Regions from separate parts of the Homo sapiens genome. Here region 1 is linked to region 2. Evidence: promoter capture Hi-C in 16 types of primary human blood cells and fetal thymus (Javierre and others, 2016). All regions are on one chromosome and are shown on one strand. Each heading gives the region's core, a stretch centred on a gene start or on the middle of the fragment in contact. The rest is flanking DNA. Distances are from core to core; before and after follow the strand shown. Region 1 holds the start of ATP4A (ATPase H+/K+ transporting subunit alpha). Region 2 overlaps NPHS1 (NPHS1 adhesion molecule, nephrin).

Region 1 (7,040 bases), core at 1,784-4,283, 270 kb after region 2:
ACGAATTTGTATTGGGCAGCATTCAAAGCAGTCCTGGGCCACATATGGCCTGCAGGCCATGGGTTGGACAAGCTTGCTCTAGATTATTTACTAGTGTTTTATTAATGTTAATTTCCTGAATTTGATTATTAGACTGTGCTTATGTAAGAAAATGTCCTTATTCATAGAAGACACATGCCTAAGTATGGATAAAGGGGATCCTGTCTCCAACTTGCTTCCAAATGATTCAGCCAAAAATTTAAAAAATTCTGGCCAGGCATGGTGGCTCACACCTGTAATCCCAGCACTTTGGGAGGCCAAGGCGGGTGGATCACTTGAGACCAGGAGTTCTAGACCATCCTGGCCAACATGGTGAAACCCCGTCTCTACTAAAAATACAGAAATTAGCTGGGCATGGTGGCGGGTGCCTGTAATCCCAGCTGCTTGGGAGGCTGAGGCACAAGAATTGCTTGAATCCAGGAGACAGAGGTTGCAGTGAGCCGAGATCATGACACTGCACTACAGCCTGGGCGACAGAGAAAGACTCTGTCTCAAAAAGAAAAAAAAAAAAAATCTATCAATCATCTATCATTTATGTATCCATCTATCTGTCTAACATCTCTTATCTATCTATTTTTCTATTTTTTTTTTTTTTTTTTTTTGAGACAGAGTCTCACTCTGTCACCCAGGCTGGAGTGCAGTGGCATGATCTCGGCTCACTGCAACTTTCACCTCCCAGGTTCAAGTGATTCTCCTGCCTCGGCCTCCCTGGTAGCTGGGATTACAGGCACACACCACCACATCCAGCTAATTTTTGTATTTTTAGTAGAGACAGGGTTTCACCATGTTGACCAGGCTGGTCTCGAACTCCTGACCTCATGATCCGTCCACCTCAGCCTTCCAGAGTGCTGGGATTACAGATGTGAGTCACAGTGTCCGGCCCAGTCCTCCTTCTAATGAACACCAAACAAATAAAAAGAAAACACAGTGTCAGGTTGGAGTAGGAGGTGTAAATACAGTGGGGTAAAGGAACAGAACACAGTGTGCAGTATTACAGAATGGACTCTCTGAAGAGGTGACATTTGAGCTGAGACCTGAAAGAGGTGAGAAAGCCAGTGCAGACATCTAAGGAAGGGGGCCCAGGCAGAAGGAACTGTAAGTACCAAGGTCCTGAAGCAGGAACGACCTTGGTCTGTGCAAAGTGCAGCAGAGAGGTCAGTGCCCCTGGAAACCTAGCAGCAACAGAGGCAGGACAGGTGACCAGGGCCAGATGTTGCAGGAAGGAGTGCAGAGTTTATTCTGAGTGGGAAGGGAAGGCTTTGGAGGGTTGTAAGCAGGGGGTGACACAAGCTGTTTGACATACATGGCTCAGAGCTGATGGGAGCCCAGTGAGCGAGTAGATTCACTACAAGGACAGCATGTGGCCCCACGCCACCTCTTCTTTGGAGGTTTCTTCTAGCAGGCTGGGGATGACCAGCCGTGTGGGTGCGGGGAGGAGCTCTGGCTGCCCAACAGCTTTGAGTTTCCCAGGTGACCTGCCCCAGTAGAGAAGGACATTGCCAGGGCAGTTATCTTATCAGGCGCACGCTCACCTGCTCCTGGAGACACGCTCACCCCATAACATACCAAGGTCCCCACCATTCCACTGGCCCAGCCCCTCGCTGCTGCTGCCCATGGAGGTCCCTACCTGAGGGATGAGGAGGGAGTCCCCAGGCCTCCTGGCATCTGTCACCCAACACCAAGATCAAGCCAAGACCCTTGGACACATCCTTTCCCCATGTTGCACCTTGGTTTCCCCATCTAGGGTAGGGACGGGGAATGGTTGAGAGCTGTAAAGTCTGTAGCTGGATATGTGAGTCCCTGTGAGCCTCAGTTTCCCCCTCTGCACAACAGGAATGATAGTTCTGCCTGCACAGGGTTTTTTGCAAAGACCCGTGAGGTCACACGTGCAGAGCCTGGCATGTGTGTGGTGCTGCTGCAGTGAAGTTTGGGTTTTTCCATTGGTGGTGCCATAGAAGAGCTAGGCTCTGGGGTCAAGCCCTGGGGTCAAGCCCGGGCTGGAACCCTGTCCCTAATTCTTAGACGTTGAAATCTTCTGCAAAGTCCCTGATGGGGGCTAAGAAGAGAATATTGCTTTACAGGGCTGCTGTTAGATGCTAAGGAAACCATTTGAGTGACACACAGAGCACACCCAGCCCATAGTGAATAGTCAGAGTTCAGTAAACATTCAGCCACCATAGAGAGTGTTGTAAGCATGGCAGGGCATGGTGGCTCACGCCTGTAATCCCAGCACTTTGGGAGGCCAAGGCGGGTGGATCACCTGAGGTCAGGAGTTCGAGACCAGCCTGGCCAACCTGGTGAAACCCCGTCTCTACTAAAAGTACAAAAATTAGCTGGGTGTGGTGGCATGTGCCTGTAGTCCCAGCTACTCAAGAGGCTGAGGCAGGAGAATCACTTGAACCCGGGAGGCGGAGGTTGCAGCGAGCTGAGATTGCACCACTGCACTCCAACCTGGGTGTCAGAGTGACACTCCATCTCAAAAAAAAAAAGAAAAAAAAAAAGAGTGTGGGAGCACCCTCCTCTTCCAGTTGATCAGGCACGTGCTATTTAGACTGAAAGAGGACACTCTGCAGCCAGCTGATCTGGTTCTCACTCCATTATGTCCTAGCCTGTGATGGAGCCATAGGAGAATGACTCAACCCCTCCATGCCTCAGTTTCCCCATCTGTAAAGGGTCTTGTCCCCTCAAAGGGTTATTGGAAGGTTAAATAAGTTAGCACATGGAAGCCGTCAGCACAATGCCCAGCGCATAATGAGCACCTTATGTTTGCTCTTCTTGTTGCTGCAGCGGTTCCCAGGGGCTCCCTGATCTCAGGGCAGGTTGACATGGGGGGATCTGGGCAGGGGAGGGGGGGGCCAGCCCAGGAGGGAATGCCTGAGGTGCCCAGGCCTAGAGGTCACCCCAAGGAGCCTGTAATCAGCTGTGGTCGGGCGGTTCTGCTCCACCCCACCGCCCTCCCTGGGTATATCAGGACTGGTCCGGGCCCAGGCTCTGTTGGGTGGGAGCACAGGCACCGGGCACCATGGGGAAGGCCGTGAGTGGGGCCCAGGGGTCCGGGGTGCAGTGGGGACAGGGGTTGCAGTGGAATCTGAGTTCTCCCTCCCTCCATCCTGTCCATTCCCAGGAGAACTATGAGCTCTACTCGGTGGAGCTGGGTCCTGGCCCTGGCGGGGACATGGCTGCCAAGATGAGCAAGAAGAAGAAGGCGGGTGGCGGGGGTGGCAAGAGGAAGGAGAAGCTGGAGAACATGAAGAAGGAGATGGAGATTGTGAGCTCTGACTGGGGAGGGGCGGGAGCTGGAGGGTAGGCTGGGAACCAGGCAGTGGGCGGGGAGGGGGCCAGGAGAGCCCAGAGCAAGCACCCTGCCCCACCCCACCACACAGAACGACCACCAGCTGTCAGTGGCGGAGCTGGAACAGAAATACCAGACCAGTGCCACCAAGGTGAGCTGGAGACTGGGAGCGTACAGAAAGGGGAGGAGGAGAGAGGGAGGGAGAGGGAGATGGAAGGAGGGAGATGGAGAGAGGGAGAGAGAGGGAGAGATGAAGAGAGGAAGATATGGAGAAATAGAGAGAGGGAGGGAGGCAGAAAAGGAAAGAGGGAGGGAGGGAGAGAGGAAAGGATGGAGGGAGGGGAGGAGAGAGGGAGGGAGATGGAGAGAGGGAGAGAGAGGGAGAGGGAGAGAAGGGAGAAAGCATTAGAGAGAAAGGGTGACACACAGAGACGGAGAGAGGAGTAGCTGAAAAGAGACAGCAAGACAGAGAAGGCAGAGACAAATAAGGAGAGAGCAGCAGGAGAGAGACACATAGAAAGGGGAGCGAGGAGAGAGAGACAAAGGGAGAGATGAAGGAGGGAGGGAGAGATGGGGTGGGGGCAGGAACCAAGAGACAAAGAGATGAGAAGGAGCAGGACAGACCAAGCTGGAGAAGGGAAACTGAAGCAGGGGGCTTTCCACGGGGTGTGCATGTGGAGGAAAGCCCCCAGGACCGCCTCGCCCTGCCCCTCTGTCCCAGGGCCTCTCTGCGAGCCTGGCTGCTGAGCTGCTGCTGCGGGATGGGCCCAACGCACTGCGGCCACCACGGGGCACCCCAGAGTACGTCAAGTTCGCGAGGCAGCTGGCCGGGGGCCTGCAGTGCCTCATGTGGGTTGCCGCCGCCATCTGCCTCATCGCCTTTGCCATCCAGGCTAGTGAGGGGGACCTCACCACCGACGACAATGTGAGCCATGTTGTGGGGACAGGCTCAGGACATGGGGACCTGGGGATGGAAGACACTGAGCCTGGGACTTGGGACAAGAGGGGCAGAGAAGGATGGGGATAGACGAACACGAAAGGCAGTCTCAAGACAGGGGTCATGGAGGGTGAAGGACATTGGGATATGGATGGGGCAGACCCAAGGACACAGGACACAGGGACACTGGGGTGAATCTTGGGTATGGGGACATAGGTGGGGGCATAAAGAGTATGGCAATGTGATACGTAAGAGATGGGATTTGGAGGCCGGGCGTGTAATCCCATGCCTGTAATCCCAGCACTTTGGGAGGCCGAGGCGGGCAGATCACCTGAGGTCAGGAGTTCGAGACCAGCCTGGCCAACATGGCAAAACCCCATCTCTACTAAAATTACAAAAATTAGCCAGACATGGTGGCGGGCACCTGTAATCCCAGTTACTTGGGAGGCTGAGGCAGGAGAATCATTTGAACCCAGGAGGTGGATGTTGCAGTGAGCCAAGACCATGCCACTGCACTCCAGCCTGGGCGACAGAGCGAGACTGCATCTTAAAAAAAAAAAAAAAAAAAAAAAAAAGAGATGGGACTTGGAAGCAGAGGACATGCAGTGCAGACACAGGACAGACTGAGGCACGGGGAATAGGAGACCCTGGGACTCAGACATAGGACACCAGGGCAGGGACCCAAGCCTCAGGACACAGCACATAGAGAGACACAAAACATGAGACATAGAAGCACAGAGACAGAGAGGAAATGGAGGTGCAGGGCAAGGGACATTGGACATATGGCAGAGATGAGGGCAAGGGACATGGGGACTCAGGGACATGTGACATGGGACAGAGGCTCGAAAAGTCATGGCCATGGGACACAGGATGGGAACTCGGAGATACACAGACATGGGAGACACGGGACACAGTGACTGGGGAGCTAGAACATGGGGGCCGTGGCCACAGAGGACACAGACCATGACGTACAAGGTCTGCAGCACACGCAGGGACGGGGATGTGAGGATGCAGGGACAAGGGGGCCCAGGGGACACACAGAGGGTGGCAGCAGATTATGGAAAACCCAGGATGTGAAACTGGAGACACGGGGAATACAGGCCATGGGGACAGGAGGAGACATGGGACAGTGGACATGGGGAATGCAAGGCTTGGGGACACAGGAGAAGGGAACACGTCAGACCAAGGCACACAGTGATTTGGGGCACAAGTCACAGATATGGGGACATGGAAGATTGAGGATTCAGGGCCAGAGGATATGAAATATACACAGAAACACAAGACACTGAGAAGACAGAGCAGGCGAGTGTGGGACATGAGGGACATGGGAGGGGGCTAAAGGCTACAGGGAATGGTGCATGGAGCTTCCTAGTAGGTGGGGAAAAGCATGGGGAAAACCAAGAAAACCAGGGCACCAGGGAGCAGGTCGGTGGCCTCAGGCAGGCAGCTTCCGGCCCCTCTGAATAACCCCACCCCTTCCCTGTCCCCAGCTGTACCTGGCAATCGCTCTCATTGCTGTGGTTGTCGTCACCGGCTGCTTTGGCTACTACCAGGAATTCAAGAGCACCAACATCATCGCCAGCTTTAAGAACCTTGTGCCACAGGTGGGTTCCCCAGCACCCAGCCACTCCAGATCCCAGAGACTCCAAACTGCTCCTGTAGCCTCCTTCCATCAGGCCCCTGTCCCTCATCTGTGGCCTCCATCTCTCCCCATGGGTCCCAGCTCTCCTCATCCTTTACCTCCCCACATGCAGCAGCTCCCACCCCCACCCCCGTCCACCTCAACTTTGGTGCCCCTGCCCCGCAGCAAGCCACTGTCATCCGCGATGGAGACAAATTCCAGATCAACGCTGACCAACTGGTGGTGGGCGACCTGGTGGAGATGAAAGGTGGGGACAGAGTGCCCGCCGACATCCGCATCCTGGCGGCCCAGGGCTGCAAGGTGGACAACTCCTCGCTGACAGGGGAGTCTGAGCCACAGACCCGCTCACCCGAGTGCACGCACGAGAGCCCTCTGGAGACCCGCAACATCGCCTTCTTCTCCACCATGTGCCTTGAGGGTCTGTGAAGCCCCCGCCTGCCTGCCCAGTAACTGCTGCCTCCACTGGCCTCTCTCCTGCTATCTTCTAGGACAGGGGGCTTCAGCCTCCCTGTCTCTCTCCTGCATGACTGCCACCTCCCCGTGACTGCCACCTCCCCAGGGCACACTGCTTCTCTGTCTCCCACTGTCACTACCCTCTCCCAGGTCACATCCTCCACTGGCAGTGACTGGCTGTCCTTCAGCTCACACGGCAGTGCACACCCCACTGCCGCCCCCTATCCCTGAGTCGCGCCTTGGCCCCCCTGCAGGCACCGTGCAGGGCCTGGTGGTGAACACGGGCGACCGCACCATCATTGGGCGCATCGCATCGCTGGCGTCGGGGGTGGAAAACGAGAAGACACCCATCGCTATCGAGATCGAGCATTTTGTGGACATCATCGCGGGCCTGGCCATTCTCTTCGGTGCCACATTTTTTATTGTGGCCATGTGCATTGGCTACACCTTCCTGCGGGCCATGGTCTTCTTCATGGCCATCGTGGTGGCCTATGTGCCTGAGGGGCTGCTGGCCACTGTCACAGTGAGTGGGGGCAGGCGGGGATGCAGGGAGCTGAGGGGCCTGCTCAACCATCTGTTCTTTCCTCCACATTTCCCCCATCACCTCCCTGCCTGTCTATCTGTCCACTTAGCTCCCATCCATTCTCCTGCCTTCCCATCATCCACTCATTCAGCAA
Region 2 (6,772 bases), core at 4,197-6,696:
TCAAGCAATTCTCTTGACTCAGTCTTCTGAGTAACTGGGATTACAGGCATGTGCCACCACCCCCAGCTAATTTTGTATTCTTAATAGAGACGGGGTTTCACCATGTTGGTCAGGCTGGTCTCGAACACCTGACCTTGTGATCCACTCACCTTGGCCTCCCAAAGTGCTAGAATCATAGGCCTGAGCCACCATGCGCGGCCTTATTTTTTATTTTTGAGATGGAGTCTCACTCTGCCACCCAGGCTGGAGTGCAGTGGCATGATCTTGGCTCACTACAACCTCCGCCTCCCGGGTTCAAGCGATTCTCCTGCCTCAGCCTCCTAAGTAGCTGGGATTACAGGCAAGTGCCACCATGCCCAGCTAATTTTAGTATTTTTAGTAGAGACGGGGTTTCGCCATGTTGGCCAGGCTGGTCTTGAACTCCTGACCTCAGGTGATCCACCTGCCTTGGCCTCCCAAAATGCTGAGATTACAGGTGTGAGCCACCACGCTTGGCCACTTTTTGTTTGTTTGTTTTTGTTCTGAGACGCAGTTTTGTTCTTGTTGCCCAGGGTGGAGTGCAATGGTGCCGTCTCGGCTCACTGCAACCCCCGCCTCCTGGGTTTGAGCAATTTTCCTGCCTCAGCCTCCCAAGTAGCTGGGATTACAGGCATGCACCTGTAATTTTTTGTATTTTTTAGTAGAGACAGGGTTTCACCATGTTGTCCAGGCTGATCTCGAACTCCTGACCTCAGGTGATCCACCAGCTTCGGTCTCCCAAAGTGTTGGGATTACAGGTGTGAGCCACCACGACTGGACTAGTTTTCGTTTTTTTTTTTTTTTTTTTTTTAAGAGAATAACCTCAAATGCATATTCTAAGTTTTCATCTTAAGAAACTGTGGCTCATGCCTGTAATCCCAGCACTTTGAGAGGCCAAGGCGGGTGTATTACTTGAGGTCGGGAGTTTGAGACCAGCCTGACCAACATGGAAAAACCCTGTCTCTACTGAAAATACAAAATTAGCCGGGTGTGGTGGCACATGCCTGTAATCCCAGTTACTTGGGAGGCTGAGGCAAGAGAATCACTTGAACCTGGGAGGCAGAGGTTGCAGTGAGCAGAGATGGTGCCATTGTACTCCAGCCTGGGCAACAAGAGCAAAACTCCATCTAAAGAAAGAAAGAGAGAGAGAGAGAGAGAGAGAAAGAAAGAAGCTAATAAAAGACGAACAAATTAAACCCAAAGTAAACAGAAAGAAGAAAATAATAATGGTAAGAGCAGAAATGAATGAATTAGAAAACAGAAAAACAATTGAGAAAATCAATGAAACCAGAAGCTGGTTATTTGAAAAAAATCAATAACATTTATAAATCTGATTAAGACAAATAAAAGGGAGAAAATACAAGTTACCAATAACAGGAATGGAAGAAGGGATGTTACCACAGACTCCACAGACATTAAGAGGATAATTAGGGAATATTATGGATAACTTTATTCCAATAAATTCAGCAAGTTGGATGAGAAGGACAAATTCCTTGAATATGATGAATATGTTACAATTCTGATAGGCACAGTATTGTAGTGGTAAATCCTTCAGAGCCTGGTCCAGAGAAGCTTGGGTTCAAATCCCCTCTCTGCTACCTCTTAGTTGTGTGACCATAGGCAAGTGTCTCAGTTTCTAAAAATATATAGCACAGATCTTTGTGGCTCAGTTTATTTTTCTTTCTTTCTTTCTTTCTTTCTTTCTTTCTTTCTTTCTTTCTTTTCTTTTCTTTTCTTTCTTTTTTTTTTTTTTTGCAATGGAATCTTGCTCTGTCACTCAGGCTGGAGTACAGTGGCATGATCTCGGCTCACTGCAACCTCTGCCTCCCAGGTTCAAGCAATTCTCCTGCCTTAGCCTTCCAAGTAGCTGGGATTACAGGTGCATACCACCACGCCTGGCTAATTTTTGTATTTTTTAGTAGAGACAGGGTTTCACCATGTTGGCCAGGCTGGTCTCAAAGTCCTAACCTCAGGTGATCCACCTGCCTCAGTCTCTCAAAGTGCTGGGATTACAGACGTGTGCCACCACTCCTGGCCGCAAGCTTCTCCTTTCTGTTTTCCTCTTCCTGACAGAGCAGGCTTTTTCTCAATGGAAGTAAGGACACTTTTTCACCCCTACAATCTTCTCTGCTCTTCCCCCCACCCCACTCCAGTCTTCCCTTTGAACACTAAAACATAAAGTATGACACTTGCCTCCTTTGCTTTAGAACTTGTACCTTTATTAAGGGATCGAGAGCCCAAAGTCTTTTTTGGTTAACTCAACAAATTGATAATTCGGGTGAAAAGGACCTTGCACACCGAAAGTGCTCATCAACAGTTAATTTTTGGGCCAGGCATGGTGATGCATGCCTGTAGTCCCAGCTAATCAGGAGTCTGAGGCGGGAGGATAGCTTGAACCCAGGAGGTCGAGGCTGCAGTGAGCTATGATCATACCACTGCACTCCAGCCTGAGCGACAGAGTGAGACCCTGTCTCTTTAAAAAAAAAAAAATGGCCAGGCGCAGTGGCTCACGCCTGTAATCCCAGCACTCTGGAAGGCCGAGGTGGGCGAATCACGAGGTCAGGAGTTCGAGACTAGCCTGGCCAACATGGTGAAACCCCATCTCTACTAAAAATACAAAAAATTAGCCAGGCATAGTGGCAGGTGCCTGTAGTCCCAGCTACTTGGGAGGCTGAGGCAGGAGAATTGCTTGAACCCGGGAGGCAGAGGTTTCAGTGAGCTGAGATTGCGCCACTGCACTCCAGCCTGGGCAATAGAGAGAGGTTCAGTCTCAAAAAACAAATTATTCTTAGCATTAGCGTTACCATTAGAATTGCTATTAATAGTATTGTCATTATTATCAGCAATTTCTAGCTCTCTTTGAAATATTCTTAAGCAGTCATATACCAGTTCCCATGAATCTAATAGGCTTAAGAAGAGGCTGAGAAATATTTAAAGCTTATCTCAGATTCTTAGTGTTAAGTCACAATCTGTATATCCACCCCCCAGGTCTCCACCAGCCTTCTGGAGAACCTGAAGACCAGCTGCCCACAGAGCCACCTTCAGGCAAGTCCTCAGTCCCCTGATCCCTCCCGGCTCCCCTGAGAATGGAACCTCCTGGTCTCTGACCCTACCTCCTCTGCTTGTAGTCACAGCTGCTTAACGACTTAGTTCTGGCCAAGCTCAGTCGCTCACGCCTGTAATCCCAACACTTTGGGAGGCCAAGGCATGTGATCACTTGAGCCCAGGAGTTTGAGACCAGCTTGGGCAACATAGCAAGACTCCATCTTTGCAAAAATAAAAAATAGCTGGGTGTAGTGGCATGTGCCTGTAGTCCCAACTACTCAGAAGGCTGAGGTGGGAGGATTGCATAAGCCCAGGAGTTGGAGGATGCAGTGAGCTATGACTGAGCCACTGCACTCCAGCCTTGGCAACAGAGGGAGACCCTATCTCAAAAAAAAAAAAAAAAAAAAAAAAGACTTAGTTCTGTCCCTGCAGAATTGCAGACTTGCAGACTCCTTAGAGCTTCCTCTTTTTTCTTTCTTTCTTTCTTTTTTTTTTTTTTTTTTTTGAGACAGAGTCTCATTCTGTTGCCCAGGCTGGAGTGAAGTGGCAAAATCTTGGCTCACTGCAACCTCCACCTCCCAGGTTCAAGCGATTCTTTTGCCTTAGCCTCCCGAGTTGCTGGGATTACAGGCACCTGCCACCACACCTGGCTAATTGTTGTACTTTTTTAGTAGGGACGGGGTTTCACCATGTTGGCCAGGCTGGTCTCGAACTCCCGACCTCAAGTGATCTGCCTGCCTCAGCTTCCCAAAGTGCTGGGATAACAGGCATGAGCTACGGCACTCGGCATTTTTTTTTTTTATTTTTTTATTTTTTGAGATGGATTCTTGCTCTGTTTGTTGCCCAGGCTGGAGTGCAGTGGTGCGATCTCGGCTGACTGCTATCTCCACCTCCCGGCTTCCTCTCCTGCCTCAGCCTCCCGAGTAGCTGGGACTACAGGCACGTGCCAACACGCCCAGCTAATTTTTTGTATTTTTAGTAGAGATGAGGTTTCACCGCGTTAGCCAGGATGGTCTTTAACTCCTGACCTCATGATTCACCCACCTCAGCCTCCCAAAGTGCTGGGATTACAGGCGTGAGCCACTGCATCTGGCCAATTTTTTTTTTCTTAGATCTTCCTCTTGCCTGGAGTGATAAATTTTCTTCTCTTCCAAATTTAGTTTAATTCCGTAAGAATTAGCTCACTCCATGTCCTGTAAGAAGCCTGCATCAGTTAGCTTTTGCTGTATAATGAACCACCCCAAACATGGGTGCTTATAGCAACATTCTTCCTCATGATTCTGAGTCTGGCGGAACAGTGCTGGTCTGGGCTGGCTTAAATCATCTCTGCAGTCAGCTGGCAGCTCCACTGGACTGGGTGGTCTAGGGTTGCCCCCTTCCCACACTTCTGATAGTCATCTGGCTCTTGGTTGGAACAATGGAGATAACTGGGCGCGTGTCTCTTCTTGACTTTTTCACATGGAGGTGGTCACGGGGGTCAAAAGCAGCAATTTACTAGCTGATTCCGTCATAGTTGTGTCTCATTGGCCAAAGCAAGTCACATGGCTCAACACAGAGTCAGTGTGGAAAGGCCCCGCACTCAAGGATGTGACTACTGGGAGATGATTGCAACCATTTGGCAAAAAAATCCCCTTCAGAGCCCGAGAAAAAGGTTGCAAGTGACAGAAATGCAGCTGTTTTGTCAACACGAAAAAGAATGGCTTGGCTGGGCACAGTGGCTCATGCCTATAATCCCGGAACTTTGGGAGGCTGAGGCAGGTAGATCACTTGAGCCCAGACGTTGGAGACAAACCTGGGCAACATGGTGAAACCCCATCTCTATAAAACAAAAACAAAAAAAATTAGCCAGGCATGGCAGTGCATGCCTGCAGTCCCAGCTACTCAGGAGGCTGATGCGGGAGGATTGATTGAGCCCAGGAGGTTGAGCCTTCAATGAGCCGAGCTCACGCCACTGCACTGCAGCCTGGGCAACAGAGTTGAGACCCTGTCTCAAGAAAAAAAAGAAAAAGTCTTGGTATATGAAATAAAAAATTCCAAGTGTGGCCACTTTCAGGTGCTCAAAAATCTCACCAGCGATCTGTTTCTCACCCTCTCTCAACTTTGCCTTCATCTGTGGTGGCTTCTTTCTGAGTTTCTTCAATCAGAGGGGCAGAGAAGCCCTCCTCCACCTCCATCTTCTTGACAGCTAGTAGAATTGTCCTAAATGTTTTGTTAAAAACACACGTTGGGTCAAATGCCTGTGTCTAAACAATCACTGTGGAGAGAGGAATGGAGACTCTTATTTTCCAGGCCGGGCCATGTGCCCACTGTGGAGTCCTGCCTGAACCCAAGACTGAGATTGGGGAGTGGCTGTTCTCCCCAGGGGAAAAAAGTGCTATTAGTAGAAGACAGGGGAGATTGCCCGCCCAACAGATGCCTACTTAGAGGGGTTCAGCCTTGTCCTCAGGGATATAGCAGCCAAGTCAGCCTGATATTGGCTGGGATGGAAGTTGGTGGAAAGAAGTCATTTGAGGCTGGGCACGGTGGCTCGCGCCTATAATGCCAGCACTTTGGGACGCCAAGGTGGGCAGACCACTTGAAGCCAGGAGTTCAAGAACAGCCTGTCCAACATGGCGAAACTCCGTCTCTATTAAAAATACAAAAAAAAAAAAAATTAGCCGGGTGTGGTGGCATGCGCCTGTAATCCCAGCTACTTGGGAGGCTGAGGGAGAAGAATCGCTTGAACCCTGCAGGTGGAGGTTGCAGTGAGCCAAGATCATGCCACTGCACTCCAGCCTGGGTGAAAGAGTGAGACTCTTTTTTTTTTTTTTTTTTTTTTGAGACAGGGTCTCATTCTGTCACCCAGGCTGGAGTGCAGTAGCGTGATCTCGGCTCACTGCAACCTCTGCCTCCCCAGTTCAAGTGATTCCCCTGCCTCAGCCTCCCAAGTAACTGGGACTACAGGTGCCTGCCACCACACCCAGCTAATTTTTTGTATTTTAGTAGAGACAGGGTTTTACCATATCGGCCAGGCTGGTTTTGAACTCCTGACCTTGTGATCCAACCCCTCAGCCTCCCAGAGTGCTGGGATTATAGGCGTGAGCCACCGTGCCCAGCCAACTCCGTCTTAATTAAAAAACAAAATAAAATAAAGAAGTCCTTGAGATGGGATTTTTTTTTCAGAGGCAGGGTCTTGCTCTGCTGCCCAGGCTGGAGTGCAGTGGTGCTATCATAGCTCACTGGAGCCTTGACTTACCAGGTTCAAGCAATCCTCTTGCTTCAGTGTCCCGAGTAGCTGGGACTATAGACATGCACCACCATGCTGCTAAATTTTTAATTTTTTTTGTAAAGAATCAGCCTCACTATGTTGCCTAGGCTGGTCTTGAGCTCCTAGGCTCAAGCGATTCTCCCACCTTGACCTCCCAACATGCTGGGATTACAGGCATGTGCTGCAGCGCCTGACCTTGAGATAGAATTTGAAAGGCAAACAGAAGTTTGCTTGAGAAGAAAGGACATTTGAGGACAGACACTTAACTATTCCAAAGCTCTGAGGTGTGAATTTGCTTCAGTGATTCTGGAAACAGCTGGTGGTTGATTTGTGTGGCTGGACAGTCCAGTACCAGGGTCTAAGTTTGGTGGGCATGGCTGGAGGCGTGGGAAGAGGCTGGACCACAGAAAGTCTTCAGTGCCCAGCTAACGAGCTGAAGCTCCCTCCTGAGTCCAGAGTTCC

The links. The method cuts DNA at HindIII sites, captures the fragments that hold promoters and counts their contacts. A CHiCAGO score of 5 or more calls a contact.
Region 1: a contact is called between the fragment with the promoter of ATP4A here and a fragment that was not itself captured in region 2, in 5 of 17 cell types (M2 macrophages, M1 macrophages, neutrophils and 2 more). The highest score is 7.6, in M2 macrophages.

The regions. Positions count from the first base shown.
Region 1 is chr19:35,559,651-35,566,690 of GRCh38, reverse strand. ATP4A (ATPase H+/K+ transporting subunit alpha) reads left to right here and starts at 3,033. Exons shown (of 22, transcript NM_000704.3): 1 at 3,033-3,073; 2 at 3,164-3,307; 3 at 3,423-3,482; 4 at 4,053-4,256; 5 at 5,759-5,872; 6 at 6,076-6,328; 7 at 6,618-6,886. The coding sequence starts at 3,062. RefSeq lists an enhancer at 1,377-1,878. The HindIII fragment of the contact is 9,853 bases long and covers 75-7,040 here.
Region 2 is chr19:35,831,996-35,838,767 of GRCh38, reverse strand. It overlaps NPHS1 (NPHS1 adhesion molecule, nephrin), which reads left to right. Exons shown (of 29, transcript NM_004646.4): 23 at 3,007-3,063. Among named protein-coding and RNA genes, the nearest start is that of NPHS1, 17 kb to the left of the region's middle. The HindIII fragment of the contact is 4,977 bases long and covers 2,958-6,772 here.